2 separate regions of the Homo sapiens genome follow, and region 2 is linked to region 1. Evidence: promoter capture Hi-C in 16 types of primary human blood cells and fetal thymus (Javierre and others, 2016). All regions are on one chromosome and are shown on one strand. Each heading gives the region's core, a stretch centred on a gene start or on the middle of the fragment in contact. The rest is flanking DNA. Distances are from core to core; before and after follow the strand shown. Region 1 holds the start of ADD1 (adducin 1). Region 2 overlaps FAM193A (family with sequence similarity 193 member A).

Region 1 (4,728 bases), core at 1,040-3,539:
CCAGCTAATTTCTTGTATTTTTAGTAGAGACAGTGTTCTGCCATGTTGTCCATGTTGATCTCTTAACTCCTGAGCTCAGGCAATCCTCCCGCCTTGGCCTCCCAAATTGCTAGGATTACAGGCAAGAGCCACCACGCCTGGACCTTTTTACTTTTTTGTAGTTGGAAAAGGAAGGAATATTTTAATAGCTTTAAAATTGTTTTATTATGATAAAATTTTCATATTATAAAGTTTATCATTTTAATTATTTTAAAGTGTACAGTTCTGTGGCTTTGCGAATATTCATATTATTGTTCAGTCATCACCACCATCCATCTCCAGAACTTTTTCATCACCCCAAGCTTAAACTCTGTACCCATTAAACACTAAATCCCCATTCCTCCAGCCCTTTGCAACCACCATTCTACCTCCTGTCTCTCTGAATTTGACTACTCTAGACACCTCATACAAGTGGAATCATACATTTATCTTTTTGTGATTGGGTTATTTCACATAGCATGTCTTCAGTGTTCATCCATGTTGTAGCATGCGTCAGAATTTCCTTTCTTTTGGCCAGGCATCGTGGTTTATGGGTTTATGCCTGTAATCCCAGCACTTTGGGAGGCTGAGTTTGGATTTGGGAAGATTGCTTGAGCCTAGGAGTTTGAGACCAGCCCTGGCAACATAGTGAGATCCCGTCTCTACAAAAAATAACAAAAATTAGCCAGGCATGTTGGCACGTGCTGGTAGTCCCAGCTACTTGGGAGGCTGAGGCAGGAGGATCCCTTGAGCCTAGGAGGTCAAGGCTGCAGTGAGCCATGGTTGCAACACTGCACTGCAGCCTGGGCGACAGAGACCCTGACTCCAAAAAAAAAAAAAAAAAAAAAAAAAAGGCACAAAACCCCAATAAATAGAATTTCCTTCTCTGCATAATGCTGCTATGAACATGGTACAAATAGCTGTTTTCATTTCTTTGGGGTATATATCCAGAAGTGGAATTGCTGGATTATGTGGTAATTATGTTTAATTTTTTGAGGAACCACTCTACGGTTTTCCACAGCAGCCACACCATTTTACATTCCCGTCAGCGATGCACAAAGGGTTCCAATTTCTCCGCATCTTTGCCAACACTTATTTTCTTTTTTTCCTCTTCTTCCTCCTTCTCCCCCCTTGAAACTTTTTGTTTTCTTCTCGTTTTTGTAGAGAACAGGGTCTCCTTATGTTGTCCAGTCAAGTCTGCCAACTCCTGGGCTCAGGCTATCCTCCTGTTTCTGCCTCCCTAAGTGCTGGGATTTTAGGCTGAAGCCACTGCGCCCAACTCCCTGCTTCTTCAACTGCCATCCTAATGAATGTTAAGTGGTATCCCACAGTGGTTTTGATTTGCGTTTCCCTAGTGATTAACTATGGGAAGCAGAAGTGAATGAGACAGAATTGTGATCTTGTCAGAAAAATCGTCTTGGAAAAGCCAACGTCCAACAGAAATGGTTAGAACAGGGGTCGCTGGCTTCCATCCAGACAGTATCCCTGACCCTTGTTGGGGCAATGTCACAGAGGCTCCTGCTGAGCAGGGAGGTCTGGATTCCACACTCTTCTGCCACTGCCCAGCTCTGGACCTAAGCTTTCTATGGGTGTCAAGAGGACAAGCAGCCGTGCCCATTTGTCTCGCTGCTTGTTTTTTTGGGTGTCAGATGCGCCAGCAGGAGGGACAGTGTGCGGGAAGGTGCTGGTCTGAGGCTGGTCCTGCCAAAGCCCCGCAGGCTCACTCCCTGGTCGTGCGGAGGTGGCTGGTGCTCGCTGGTCTCCTCAGCACCCGCAGGCCGGGCCCGGGGGCCAGGCAGTTGTCCTCTGTGGAGCCTTATCGGGGCCCACAGGCCCTGCTGCCTTGACCCCACCCGGGCCCCAAAACTCGGCCTGGGGACTGCACAAGGCGGGGCTACGCGGGGCAGGGCCCGTCTGCTGGGGGAGTGCGCTGGGCGGCGGCGGGAGGGCAGGGTCCCTGGGCTCCGACAGCCCCTCCGGCGGAGGTCAATCACAATGAAACCGTGTCCAGCGGACCCGGCAGGGGCTCGCCGCAGTCTACCTGGCCACCGTGAAGCCATGACCTGGCGCCCGAAGCTGCCGGCCGGGGTGTACTCCGCGCGGGACCCTGGGCCTCCGCAGGCCCCGGCGGGGTCGCCCCGAGGCGGGCCTGGCGAGTCCAATCGCCCTGCCCGCAGGGGACCCGCCCCTCATGGGTCCCGCCAATCGCAGGGTACGTTGCTCGGCAGTGCTGCGCGGCTTGGCCTATGGGACGGCGCGTTGTTGGGCTGCAGCGCCGCAGGCCGCACCCAGGTCGGGCGGTGGGGGCGAGCGGAGGGGCTGAGGGGCGGAGAGGCCTGGCGGGCCGCTGCTGCGGGCCAGGGGACGGGGGCGGAGCCGGAGCCGGAGCCGACGGGCGGTGGCCGCACTGGGACCCCGGAATCCCGCGCGCTGCCCACGATTCGCTTCTGAGGTGAGGCTAGCTAGCGGGGGCGGCGGGGGCCCGGTTCGGGCTGAGGCGGCGGCGGGGGCGCGGGGAACTGGGCCGCGGTTGCGGCGGGCGGGGGCCGCGGGGCCTGCGGCGGCCCGGGCAGCCTCGGGGGCGGGGAGGCCGCTGCGGCGCCGAGGGCGTCTTGGAGGGGTCCCCGCGGGGCCTTCGGCCTGGGCCGAGCCGGGGAGCGAGGGCGCCGCAGATCTTTCATCGGGATAGGACCCCGGGGACTAGGCTTTTCCCGGGCCGCTCGTTCCTGGCCGGCTTGTGGGCTGCAGGGGTGGGGGCGGAGGAGGACGACCCTGGCTGGACGCTGGTCAGCATCCTGCTTGTGAGACCGGTTCCGCGGTCCGCAGCGCTGGTGGCTGCAAGGTTTGTGTACGGACGCATCTGTCGGCTCTCGTATTTAAAAACGACGGCTTCTGCCAAAAGAGAAAAGCCATATCTGCCGACGGACGCTCGAGAGATAATCGTGGAACTTTATCAGCGATGGGGCTGTTGGTCACCTTTGCCCTCCCTCTCTTTTCTTTTTTCTTAATCTTTTATTTTCGTTTTTTGGGAGATGTCAGAGGGCCTTTCCCTGTTAGGATGACTTTTATCTTTGCTCTTGTAATGGCTCAAGATAGTTGGGAGGTAATTTGCATTCACTTTATGCATACCCACCTTGAAAAACGTATTTTGGTTCGCCTGAAACTGTTGTTGGTTTGAGCATAATTTATGTTTAGAAAGACAAAAAGCAATTGTCATATCTCCAAAGACCAAAGACATAGCTGATAGCTGTATGCATTACTGGTAAGTTAAAGAAAGATTTTTTGTGTGAAAAATTGACTGAGATCTTAATGGGGATAGGAAATAGAATGCTGATAGGTCGACTGTGTCTATGAGTAGAGGCGCCTAGTGAAAACAAGCTTGGAGTGGATGAGTAGGAGTTCAACAGGCACCAGAGAGAGGAGGGCATTTCAGGCAGAGGGTGTGAATTGTATGAAAGTGAGTTTGTAAACTTTGGAGCCTTGAATGGACAAAGGCCCGCGATGATACCTTTTTTTTTTGAGACGGAGTCTCGCTCTGTCGCCAGGCTGGAGTACAGTGGCGCGATCTCCAGTCACTGCAATCTCCGCCTCCCAGGTTCAAGCAATTCTCCTACCTCAGCCTCCCGAGTAGCTGGGACTACAGGCGCGCGCCACCACGCCCAGCTAATTTTTGTATTTTTAGTAGAGACGGGGTTTCACCATGTTGGCCAGGATGGTCTCAGTCTCTTGACCTCGTGATCCGTCCGCCTAGGCCTCCAAAAGTGCTGGGATTACAGGCGTGAGCCACCGCGCCTGGCCTACGTTAAAATTTTAATATACTCCTTTGATTTTGACAGTGGAGAAAACTAGAATAGTAAAGTTGTCTTTTCAGGAAGTGGATGATTTGGGCAGTCAAAACTGCTTTTCAGAGTTTCGATGTGGTTTACAATGGTATGGACAGCTGGTATGATTTGTTAGTTTTCTACTTGTGGTGTCTTTAGGTTTTAAAGTTTCGGAGAGTCGCTGAGTGATGTGAGTCTAAACTCTAGCCAGTCCCCGAATTGTGAGATAGTTTTCCTTCTAAAATATACTTCGTACAAGCTGGTCATTTTTCCCCTTAATTCTTTTGATGTTATCTGATATACTGAGAAGGTTTTGTTTGGTGTTCAGTTTTGTGTTACTGATTTTGCCATAAAAACTGTTTATTTACATGATTTTTAGTTTTTAGTTCTTATAGTCTTTGAATTGAATAAGAAAAGTAAATACTGAAATGCTTTGAAAGATAACAAAATATTTACTTATTGCTTGAAACTTAGAGTTAGATTGACTGCCCTTCCTTTCTTTCCTTCCATGTTTACCTCTTAACATATACACATATGTAGAGAGAATAGTATAAACCCCTTTTCTCAACCAGTTTCAACAGTCAATCTTGCTTCATCATATCCCCGCAGTCCTAGATATCCTTTAACCGTTAAATAGTTCAATATGTATATCTTAAAGACTTAAACAAAAGGTAAACATGAGTACCACTATCACAGAAAATGAATAATTCCTTAATACTTTCAAATATCCAGCCAGTGTTAAAATTGTCAGAATTCTCATTTTTTTTCTTAACAATTTCAATCGATCCACATGCTATCTATACAGTGTGACTCATTTTAATTGATAGTTTCCCCTCCATATTTAGTTTTCTCTTGTAATTTATTTATGGATGAAACCTGGTAGTTTGTC
Region 2 (4,290 bases), core at 482-2,981, 170 kb before region 1:
TATAAAAAATAAAAAGAAACAAAAATTAAAATACAATATGTATCTCTTTTTTTCTTAGAGACAGGGTCTTGCTCTGTTACACAAGCTGGAGTGGGGTGGCATCATCATGCCTCACTGCAACCTCAAGCTCCTGGGCTCAAGCAGTCTTCCTGCCTCAGCCTCCTTAGTAAGCTGGGACTATAGGCATGTGCCGCCATGACCGGCTAAGTTTTTTAATTTTAGTAGAGACAAGGTCTCCCTGTGTTGCCCAAGTTTGTCTCAAACTCCTGGCCTTCAGTGATTCTCCCGCCAGGAAATCCCAAAGTGCTAAGATTACACTTAACCAGTGTACCCAGCCACAATATGCATCTTTTTTTTTTTTTTTTTTGATACAGAGTCTCGCTCTGTCACCCAGGCTGGAGTGCAGTGGCGCAATCTTGGCTCACTGCAACCTCTGCTTCCCAGGTTCAAGTGATTCTCCTGCCTCAGCCTCCCAAGTAGCTGGGATTACAGATGCGCACCACCACGCCCATCTAATTTTTGTATTTTTAGTAGAGACAATGTTTTGCCACTTTGGCCAGGCTGGTCTCTAACTGGCCTCAAGTGATCCACCTACCTCAGCCTCCCAAAGTGCTGAGATTACAGGTGTGAGCCACCACGCCCGCCCACAATATGCATCTTAATTTATCACAATCTACTCCAGATTACTACTGACTTAATTCCAGTAAAATATACAAACTTTGCTCCGCAGGAGCTCCATTTCCTTCTTTCTCCTTTGTACTATTATTGTCCTATATATAATTACATTTGTATATGTTACAAACCAATAATATGTTTTAATTACTGCTTTATACAGCTTTATAATTTCTAGAGCAAATAAAAGAGAAAAATGTATTTATACAGTGCCTGCCTGCCTGCCTTCTTTTCTTTCTTTTCCTTTTCCTCTCTCTCTCTTTCTCTCTCTCTCTCTTTCTCTTTTCCTTTTCCTTTTCTTTTCCTTTTTCTTTTCCTTTTTTTGAGACAGAGTCACACTCTGTTGTCCAGGCTAGAGTGCAGTGGCACAATTTTGGCTCACTTCAACCTCCACCTCCCAGGTTCAAGCAGTTCTCCTGCCTCAGCCACCTGAGTAGCTGGGATCACAGGCAAGCACCATGGCACCCGGCTAATTTTTGTATTTTTGGTGGAGATGACATTTCGCCATGTTGGCCAGGCTGGTCTCAAACTCCTGACTTCAGGTGACCTACCCGCCTTGGCCTCCCAAAGTGCTGGGATTACAGGCATGAGCTACCACGCCTGGCCTGTATTTATACAGTGTTTTCTATTTGCTAGCTGGCTAGTCATTTCTGGCATTCTTCATTTTAAATTCTGCCGAATTTAAGTTACCGTCTTGTTTTTACCTTCCTTTAATATGTCTTACAGGACCAGTTTGCTAGCAGTTAATTCTGTTTTTGTGTAAATGTCTTTATTTTGCCTTCATTTTAAAAAATAGACCAGGCATGGGGGTGTCTCACGCCCAGCACTTTGGGAGGCAGAGGCGGGCAGATCACCTGAGGTCAGGAGTTCGAGACCAGCCTAGCCAACGTGGTGAAACCCCATCTCTTCTAAAAATACAAAAATTAGCCAGGCGTGCTATCATGTGCTTGTCATCCCAGCTACTTGGGAGGCTGAGGCATGAGAATTGCTTGAACCCGGGAGGCAGAGGTTGCAGTGAGACAAGATCGCGCCATTGCGCTCCAGCCTAGGCGAGAAGTGAGACTCCGTCTCAACAATAAATAAATAAATAATAAATAGAGTGGTTGTTTTTAGGAATAGCTTTAGACTCACAGCAAAGTTGAGTGAGAGCTACAGAGACACCCTATACCCAGGGTCCCCACACACAGCCTTCCCACTATCAAATTCCACACCAGAGTGTTACTCTTGTTACAGTCATCAGCTGTCAGACTGTTAGAACAAGCAGTCAGTTCTCCTGGCAGCCTGGCTTTCTCAAGAAGGTGTTTTAGTAGGGTCTGGGGTCATCCTAGGGACTTGGCCTTTGGCTGCAGGAAGCCTTAGGTGGTCATTGTGTGCCAGAGTTCTGCAGCTCTCAGTATCTCTTTGTTTTTATCCATCTTAAGGTTCACTGAGCTTCTTGGATCTGTAGACCAATGTTTCTCATCACATTTGGGAAGTGGAGTGTCCAGGTGTTATTTGGATGCTCTTCCCCCTTTCCTCTGGGACTTGGTTCTGCACATGCTGGAGTGCTGGCTGCTCTCCCACAGGCCTCTGAGCGTCTGCATACTTTCCCCTCATCTCTTCTCTCTCTTCCTAGATCAGTTCCATTGCTCTTCTTCAAGTTCACAGATGATTTTTCTGCCATTTTAAGTTTGCTTTTGAGCCCCTTTAGTGAAATTTTGGTTTAGCTATTGTACTCTTCACCTATAGAATTTATATTTTACTGTTTTTTTGTTTCTCTTTTTTTGTAGTAATTCCCTATATGTTGAATCTTTATTTTCATATTTTCCTTTAATTCTCTGAACATGTTATAACAGCTGCTTTGACATCTTTGTGTGCTAATTTAGTATCTGAACTCACTCCTGTTAACCGTTTGACTATTTATTTCCTGCATGTGGGTCACACTTTTTTTTTTCCAGACAAGGTCTTGCTCTGCCACCCAGGCTGAAGTGCAGTGGCATGATTACAGCTCACTGGAGCCTCGAGCCTGGACCTCCTGGGCTCAAACAATCCTCCCACCTCAGCCCCCCAAGTACTTGGGACTACAGGCACACACCACCATGCCTGGATAGTTTTTGTACTTTTTGTAGAGACAGGGTTTTGCCATGTTGCCCAGACTAGGCTTGAACTCTTGGGCTCAAGTGATCTTCCCACCTCTGCCTCCCAAAGTGTTGGGATTACAGGTGTGAGCCACTGCGCCCAGCCTAGGTCATACTTCTCTTTAATCTTTGCTTGTCTCATAATTTTTTGTTGAAAATTGGACATTTTAAATAATGTGATAATTTTGCATTATCATTTTTTCCCTTGAGGGTCCTTTGTTGTCTTTTGTTTGTTTCCTTGTTTTTGTTATTTCCTGGGCTTCAGTTGCAGGACCTGTATCTCCCACATTATGTGGCTGTGGGTGTCTCAGCTTACTTCTTCTCTTCTCCTTTTTAGTTTGGCTTCTAGAGGTCTGCCCTTTGTCCACCTGGCTGATTGGCCAGCTGATGATTTGGGCAGAGGTTGCCCATGCACCTTGAATCCACAGGGGCTCCATTGTTGGCTGTGGGGTGAATGCGCTCAGCACTCAGCCAGTTCTCAAGTCAGCTGTGTTGGCCCCTTCCTCCAGCCCGTGAGGTGTCCTCAGTGCATGCACTGTGCTCTCCTGGTCAGCCAGCGAGTTGTGGACAGCTTAAGAAGCCCTTCCGTGGCGCTCTCATTTCCAGGGTTCTCTCTGTTAGATTTCTGTCTCCTTTGCCACTCACCCCAGTTGGGACCTCAGTCTCAAGGGAACAGAGCTGCAGGCTTCCCTATTCATTCCCTTCTAAGTTCACTGCTTTTACTGCTTCACCCTCTGCCTGACCAGGCTGCTGTTTTTGGTAGCAGGGTTGGTTTGCGCTGACATCCCTGCAGTCACAGAACTCCTGTGCCCACTGCCGACCGAGTCAGGGGTGGAGTACAGGTGCAGGAAATGGAAAGAGTCCCAGACAAGAAAGCCAGACTTGCTGTTCTTCCTTGAAGTTCTAGCTGATTTGCATGAATAAATGTGTCGCGGTATTTTCCTTGGGCTGATTTCCAGAGCCTCAGAATGGTTGCCTTTGACAATTGTGTTCAGTTTTACATTTGCCCTGAGGGAAAGGAGCCACTGACCTCTTCACTCCACCGTAACCGGAAGTCGCGTCTCTGCTTTGTTTTGGAGAATCCATGTGTGACTACTTAGAAGCAGTGTGAGCCCAGTGGAGCACAGCCATCCCCTCTCTACTCTGTCGTCTTCACTAGTTCCCTTGTCCCTGCTCACATGTGGGAAGAGAGATTTTCTGCATAGGCATAGGATTCAGAACCAGTGGCTCTACCTGAGTCTGTCTGTGGAATGAGGTACACCTTTCTTCTCTGTGCGTCTTCTTCAGTCTCAGTCTCTTGGGGTCCCTCGTTTTCCTTGCATGGAAGGCCCTGGTCAACTCAGGGTGTCAGGAAAAGCCCACTTACCTTTGTATTTGCTTTGTAACTACTTGGCAGAATGTGACTGACTTTAATTCATACCATTTATTGTTTCACTAAATAGGTATGTTTTTTTTCTTTCCTCTTAGGCTGAACAAGCTCCAAACACTTGTGAATGTCATG

What was found. The method cuts DNA at HindIII sites, captures the fragments that hold promoters and counts their contacts. A CHiCAGO score of 5 or more calls a contact.
Region 2: a contact is called between a fragment that was not itself captured here and the fragment with the promoter of ADD1 in region 1, in 2 of 17 cell types (naive B cells and activated CD4 T cells). The highest score is 6.0, in naive B cells.

What each region holds. Positions count from the first base shown.
Region 1 is chr4:2,841,555-2,846,282 of GRCh38, forward strand. It overlaps ADD1 (adducin 1), which reads left to right and starts at 2,290. Exons shown (of 16, transcript NM_001354761.2): 1 at 2,290-2,470. RefSeq lists an enhancer at 1,062-1,573 and silencers at 1,702-1,751, 1,852-2,231, 2,292-2,481, 2,602-2,751. The HindIII fragment of the contact is 1,799 bases long and covers 1,596-3,394 here.
Region 2 is chr4:2,667,865-2,672,154 of GRCh38, forward strand. It overlaps FAM193A (family with sequence similarity 193 member A), which reads left to right. Exons shown (of 21, transcript NM_001366318.2): 13 at 4,257-4,290. Among named protein-coding and RNA genes, the nearest start is that of TNIP2, 86 kb to the right of the region's middle. RefSeq lists an enhancer at 3,344-3,888. The HindIII fragment of the contact is 5,143 bases long and covers 1-4,290 here.